Regions from separate parts of the Homo sapiens genome. Here region 2 is linked to region 1. The links are contacts of gene promoters, found by promoter capture Hi-C in blood cells and fetal thymus (Javierre and others, 2016). All regions are on one chromosome and are shown on one strand. The core of a region is centred on a gene start or on the middle of the fragment in contact, and the rest is flanking DNA. Distances in the headings are between cores, read along the strand shown. Region 1 holds the start of KNL1 (kinetochore scaffold 1). Region 2 holds the start of EXD1 (exonuclease 3'-5' domain containing 1).

Region 1 (2,848 bases), core at 106-2,605:
TAACAGAAAGAAGCCACTGGAGCCAGCAGAGAATGGGGCCACTGCTTTCCATACTCAGTGCCCAAACCTTGCTGAAGCACCTGCCAGAGGCCGTGTTGTGGAGCATGGTGCAATGCAGACAGCCTTGTGGAGGAGACAATCTGTAAACCATGACTGCAAAAGATTGATAAATACTGATTATTAATCTACAGCACAGTGTAGGATTGATAAATACTAATTATTAATCTACAGCACAGATTAGAAGGGTGATTAAGCCAGCGTCTAGTAGATTTGGGTTACACTCTCCTTTCTTCAATTTAGAAGCTGTATAACCTCGGGCAAGCTAATCTTTCAGTCTCCTCATCTGTAAAATGGAGTAATAAAAATATTTGTCATGATCAAGGGTTATAGTGATGTAATTCATGTAAAACATGTGGTGCCTGTAGATAATAAATACCGGATAAAGTGTCTCATGGTAGCTTTTGAAGTGAAACCTGGTATCTCATAATCAGGACAGGTGTTAAAAACCCCAGAGTAACAGTCTACAATAATTGAAACTCCTCAGTTAGGAGCTGTGTTAAAGTTGGAACAGAGCAGCATTGGAACATATGGGATGGTAATAATTGTGGAATTCTATTCACTGTTGTTAACTCCATATAAAAAGAAATTAAATCCAGCATGATTTCTGATTCCTGGAAAGTCTCTTTCCCTCCCTTTTCTTTATCTGTGATGTCAGAACGTTCCAAATACTGTATTTCAACATTTCAGGCCTGAAACTGATGGTGCCAGATTAATTGAGTAATAAATAATAAGTATTCAAGTTTTTCCGCTCTGCAAATTTACTTTGGTTATTAAAAAATTTATTCTGCTCTGCAAATTTACTTTGGTTATTAAAAAATTTATTCTGCTCTGCAAATTTACTTTGGTTACAAGCAAAAGTAAGCCACCACATCGACGAGGATGGGATTCGAACCCACGCGTGCAGAGCACAATGGATTAGCAGTCCATCGCCTTAACCACTCGGCCACCTCGTCCCGGTAAGTTACTGTTTCCTGATTGCTATAGGGAGTAATATCAAGGGGCTGTGACGCAATGTTATGGAAGCCGCCATTTTGTACGGAAGCCAAAGTCCAATCACTTCCATAGCAAGCAATCGAAAGAAGATGGCCGCTCCCACGATTGTGGGGGAGGTCTCCACTGGGGAGGGGCAGAGGAAATTCGGTCGAAAAAGAGATAAAGCTGAAGGAAATAAAATTGGCACGGAGTCTGGGAAAGTAGTTTCCCTAAAGGAGTCTTAGAAATAGGGTTGGTCTGGAACCTAAGGGGCGGAGCCGACGCGTAGAGCCGCTTTGCGCGTGCGCATCACCTAGGCGGTTAGATTTGAATACTTCACTGAGGCGAGCCGGGCGTTGTGAGCGGACTGCTAGAGGCGGCTGTCTGTTTCCGCTCTAAGGAAACTCAGAGCGTGTGGACCCCAAACAAGTCTGCGCAAAATTTGTCGAGGAGGTTTGCCGCGGCAGGTAAAGAGAATGACTCTTTCGTTCTGGGCTTCAGGGAAGGCTTCGGGTTTTGTCTGGGCGCCCTGAAGTTCCTGCGGTGGGAGGTAGGGTACGCTCCCTCAGCCTGGCGGCCTCCGTTAGCGCCGGGCCGAGTAGACGCCCCTGCCCCGGGCCGGGCACACTGTGCCCTTTTTCCCCTCCTCGGCCTGTACGTTGTGCCGCCTCCCGCTTCCCTAACACTTCTCCGCCTGCACCTCGGCCCCTCCGGCCACCCGGCTCGGGTTGCTTGTCCGTCGCTCTCTTGGCGTCCTCTTCCGCCCCGCCCTGCCGTCCTCTGTCAGGGCTCGCGGACTCTTCTTGCACCCCTGCCGCTCTTCCCTAGGGACCTCTCGGCTGTTTGTATTTCTCACTTAAGCTTTTTTTGGCTCTAAATGAAGTGACAGCAATGAGTGATTTTAAAATTCTCAGCTCTTCGTGGTTTAAGGTGTCTGCTCGGAGTGCTGGCCGCACGTAACAGATTTTTCGTTTTCTGCAAGTATAATAACCTTAACAAATGAAGTCAATATTAGTACTGCGCAAATTAGTTTTTAAAAATCCTCTTCTGTTCATTATTCCTCAGGATTTAAGCCCTTATTCTTCACGTTTATTTAAATACTCAAGTTTGAGGGAGGAAAAAGTATTGCCGATTGGAATTTTACAGATAGGTTTAATAGGCATTAACAGATAAAGGATGTGGATGAAGACCAAAGCAGAAGCTTATTCCAGTCTAGATATTAAAATTGATGTTTTCACTTCCGTCGAATCCTGTAGATATTTATTGGGTTCCTTATCCTGTGATAGGGCCGGGGACAGATGATTCCCAAACCTAGAGGGGTTTACAAAGGGAAATAACTAATATACACAAATAACTAGAATACAAGACAGAATGTAAAAGATTATAGGACATTCTAAAGTGGTGTGGGAGCACGGAAAAGGGAGAGCTTATTTGATGCTTTTGGTGATGGATTTGTGGAGAAGACCGCATTTGAGGTGGACGTTGGTTGGAGAGATGATTTACAGATGGGAGTTAATATGTGGTAAAATTTTGGTAATTAAAGGTTAGGGTCAAAGCAGTATAATTCTTGACTTTGCGAATGGCTGGAAATCTTTACAAGATGATAAATACATGTAAATTGAATTAAAATGTTTGGAATGGTAGTATTAATGATGTGTTCGATGTTAAATAATAGACTGTAAAAGATACTGACTCTAGATATTGCCAGTAAAGCAGTGCTGTCCAACAGGGCTTCCTGTGAAAATGGTAATGTTTTATATGTGCACTCCAACATACTACCCATTAGCGACATGGGACTATGGAGCACTTGAAATGT
Region 2 (2,848 bases), core at 89-2,588, 640 kb after region 1:
GAGCCGAAAATGCACAGTGATCAGGCCATTGCACTCCAGCCCGGACTCTGTCGCAAAAAAACAAAACAAGCCAGGTGCGGTGGCTCACGCCTGTAATCACAGCACTTTGGGAGGCTGAAGCGGGCAGATCACCTGAGATACGGAGTTCGAGACCAGCCTGACCAACATGGAGAAGCCCTGTCTCTACTAAAAATACAAAATTAGCTGGACACGGTGGCGCATGCCTGTAACCCCAGCTACTAGGGAGTCTGAGGCAGGAGAATCGCTTGAACCCGGGAGGCGGAAGTTTCGGTGAGCTGAGATGGCGCCTTTGCACTTCAGCCTGGGCAGAAGAGCAAAAACTCCGTCTCAAACAACAACAACAACAACAAACAAACAAAACTCTAGTTCTTCAAACTAGAACCTCAGCTTGCAGGGAACGTGTGGGGCCTCAGGCTAAGCTGTAAAGCCTTAGGTAACACTTAAAACTAGTAACTTAAGTTGACCTGGGAAAGCCTGCTACGACAAAAATATCCTGGTACTTGGGTACTAACAGCAGTCAGAATTCGGTTCTTCCTTATCTTATACGTGTTCTAACCAAACAGGTGTGAAGGGGTAAGGCAGGTGAAGCAGTAAGAACTGGTTCACCTGAGAGTAGGCACTAATTTAACGGGTGGCTTTTACCTTTTTTTTTTTTTTTTTTTGAGACGGAGTCTTGCTCTGTCACCCAGGCTGGAGAGCAATGCCGCGATCTCGGCTCACTGCAACCTCCGCCTCCCGGGTTCAAGCGATTCTCCTGCCTCAGCCTCCCGAGTAGCTGGGATTACAGGCACGCGGCACCACACCCGGATAATTTTGTATTTTTATTAGAGATGGGGTTTCTCCATATTGGTCAGGCTGGTCTCGAACTCACGACCTCAGGTGTTCTGCCCACCTCGGCCTCCCAAAGTGCTGGGATTACAGGCGTGAGCCACCGTGCCAGGCCTACCTTTTTAATCAAAACAAACAATACACCATGAGAATAAAATGCAAAATTTCTCATTTTTAAGACAAAATAAGGAACTTCAAATAAATGGCGGACCATAAGCTAGGAATTCACTGTCCTCCATCGTTAGGGCTTTTTCCTCCGAAGGAAGTTTGGGAAATCTGGATCCTAATTTCAGCCAAGTGGTGCGTTCCTCGAACTTCAGTCTAGAACTAAAAGAAGAGGGGCTGCAATGAAGGAAGAAGTCTCGGGACGCTCCACGCCACCCGGCGGCGGTTATCAAATCACAGGCTGAAAACCTGGAGAAAGGTCCGCGACGCCGGGGACACACGCCGCAGAGGCGACGCCCGCCCGGCCCAACGTCCAGTCTCGTCTGTTTCCCGAGGAGCCAATCAGCACGCGGCCCCGAGGCCGGCTCCCCAGCGCCCCCTGCGGCCGGGAGGAGGACGGCAGCCAGGAAAGATGAAGAGCGCGTGCAGTCCCCGAAGGGTACACCCTAGGGTTCCCCCCCACGCGAAGTTTCTCTCCGCAATCCGTGCCACCTATCGAGTAGGATTCCTAGTGTTCGATTCCTGTGAGAAAAGGTAGACTACGCTGCCTGTCGCAGGTTAGTTTGTTGTAAAACTGTTGGTCAATGACGTTGCCCTTTTAATTGCGTCGTTAGCGACCGAGTGGCATCGCCCCTTTAAGGCCGGTGGCAGCTGCGGTTCCGGGGGCGGGGTCCGTCTTCAGCAGGACTTGGGCTGGAGCTGGGCTGATTCATTCGGGGCTGGAACTCGAACGCTGACGTTGGCTCCTGAGCCGGGCGCTGCCTCGCGCCTGATTGGCGGGTCCTCGGGGCCGCCCTCCCCAGCGCACCACCCCTGGGTTCCCTCCCGGGTCCGCAGTGGAAACACTGCCCTCTCCCTTCTTGACCCCTAGCCCTTCCTTCCCTCCCTCCTTCCCTCCTGTCGCCGTCTCTTCTGGCGCCGCTGCTCCCGGAGGAGCTCCCGGCACGGCGATGGGTTCTCGGGCCTCCACGTTACTGCGGGACGAAGAGCTCGAGGAGATCAAGAAGGAGACCGGCTGTGAGTTCGGGTTGGGGGTGGGAACGCCGGGCGCCTCAGGCTGGCCTCACAACCAAGGGCGGCTGTCGCTAAGGTCTGGAGCTCGGGTGCCTGTGAGGTTGGGGGGTCCTGGGCAGCCTCCAGGTTTGGGGACCGAGAGCTGGAAGACCTGTTCTTCCAGCTGCAGCTTCCTGGAGCGGGGCTCTAGCTACTGTGGGGCTGTCCTTCCCTTCAAAATCGGGACTCTTGATCACTCGTAGAGCGTCGACGCCCCCCTTTTCTGCACCCTGCCCATCAAAGTCCCCGAACTCCTTTCCTTTCTGTTGCCTCGCACCACCCTTCCCTATGAAGAGGCATCCTGAACAGTAGGTAAAGCCCGAGAAGCAAATTCAGGAACTCGAGATGGATTCTGTAGAAAATCCGTTTCTGGGTAAGGACCTAAAACCTCTGACAACTATGGGAAATTACAAACAAGTTCTTGTCACAAATTGGGAAAACCACCCAGAAAGCAAGACCGTGTAGTAAGGCTTTGGGAGACATGACCCGATGCCTGGAGACCTTTAAACAATCAGGGGTCTGGGATTGTGAGACTTCTTTCAATCTGAACTTCTAGAGAAAAAACACGGATACTGTGACCACCAGTTTTTTACTTACACGACGATACTTGCTGTCCTAATCTCATATATGTATTGATTTCTACTATGCTGGTGTACTTTTTTATTCGCTATTGAAATTGGATGTGCTCCAAAAATCTCCGTGTGAATTTGTACTAGGAACTGATTTTTTTTTTTTTTTTTTTTGAAACGGAGTCTCCCTCTGTCAACCAGGCTGGAGTGCA

The links. Contacts are between HindIII fragments. The CHiCAGO score rates a contact against its expected background, and 5 or more counts as called.
Region 2: a contact is called between the fragment with the promoter of EXD1 here and the fragment with the promoter of KNL1 in region 1, in 1 of 17 cell types (activated CD4 T cells). The highest score is 5.7, in activated CD4 T cells.

The regions. Positions count from the first base shown.
Region 1 is chr15:40,592,894-40,595,741 of GRCh38, forward strand. KNL1 (kinetochore scaffold 1) reads left to right here and starts at 1,356. Exons shown (of 26, transcript NM_144508.5): 1 at 1,356-1,499. TRS-GCT4-2 (tRNA-Ser (anticodon GCT) 4-2) reads right to left here and starts at 1,013; the gene lies at 932-1,013. RefSeq lists a silencer at 906-955 and enhancers at 1,076-1,295, 1,516-1,835. The HindIII fragment of the contact is 4,787 bases long and covers 1-1,891 here.
Region 2 is chr15:41,229,419-41,232,266 of GRCh38, forward strand. It overlaps EXD1 (exonuclease 3'-5' domain containing 1), which reads right to left and starts at 1,339. Exons shown (of 12, transcript NM_001286441.2): 1 at 1,061-1,339. It overlaps CHP1 (calcineurin like EF-hand protein 1), which reads left to right and starts at 1,850. Exons shown (of 7, transcript NM_007236.5): 1 at 1,850-2,031. The coding sequence starts at 1,965. RefSeq lists a silencer at 1,364-1,423 and enhancers at 1,544-1,613, 1,634-1,693. The HindIII fragment of the contact is 6,181 bases long and covers 1-2,848 here.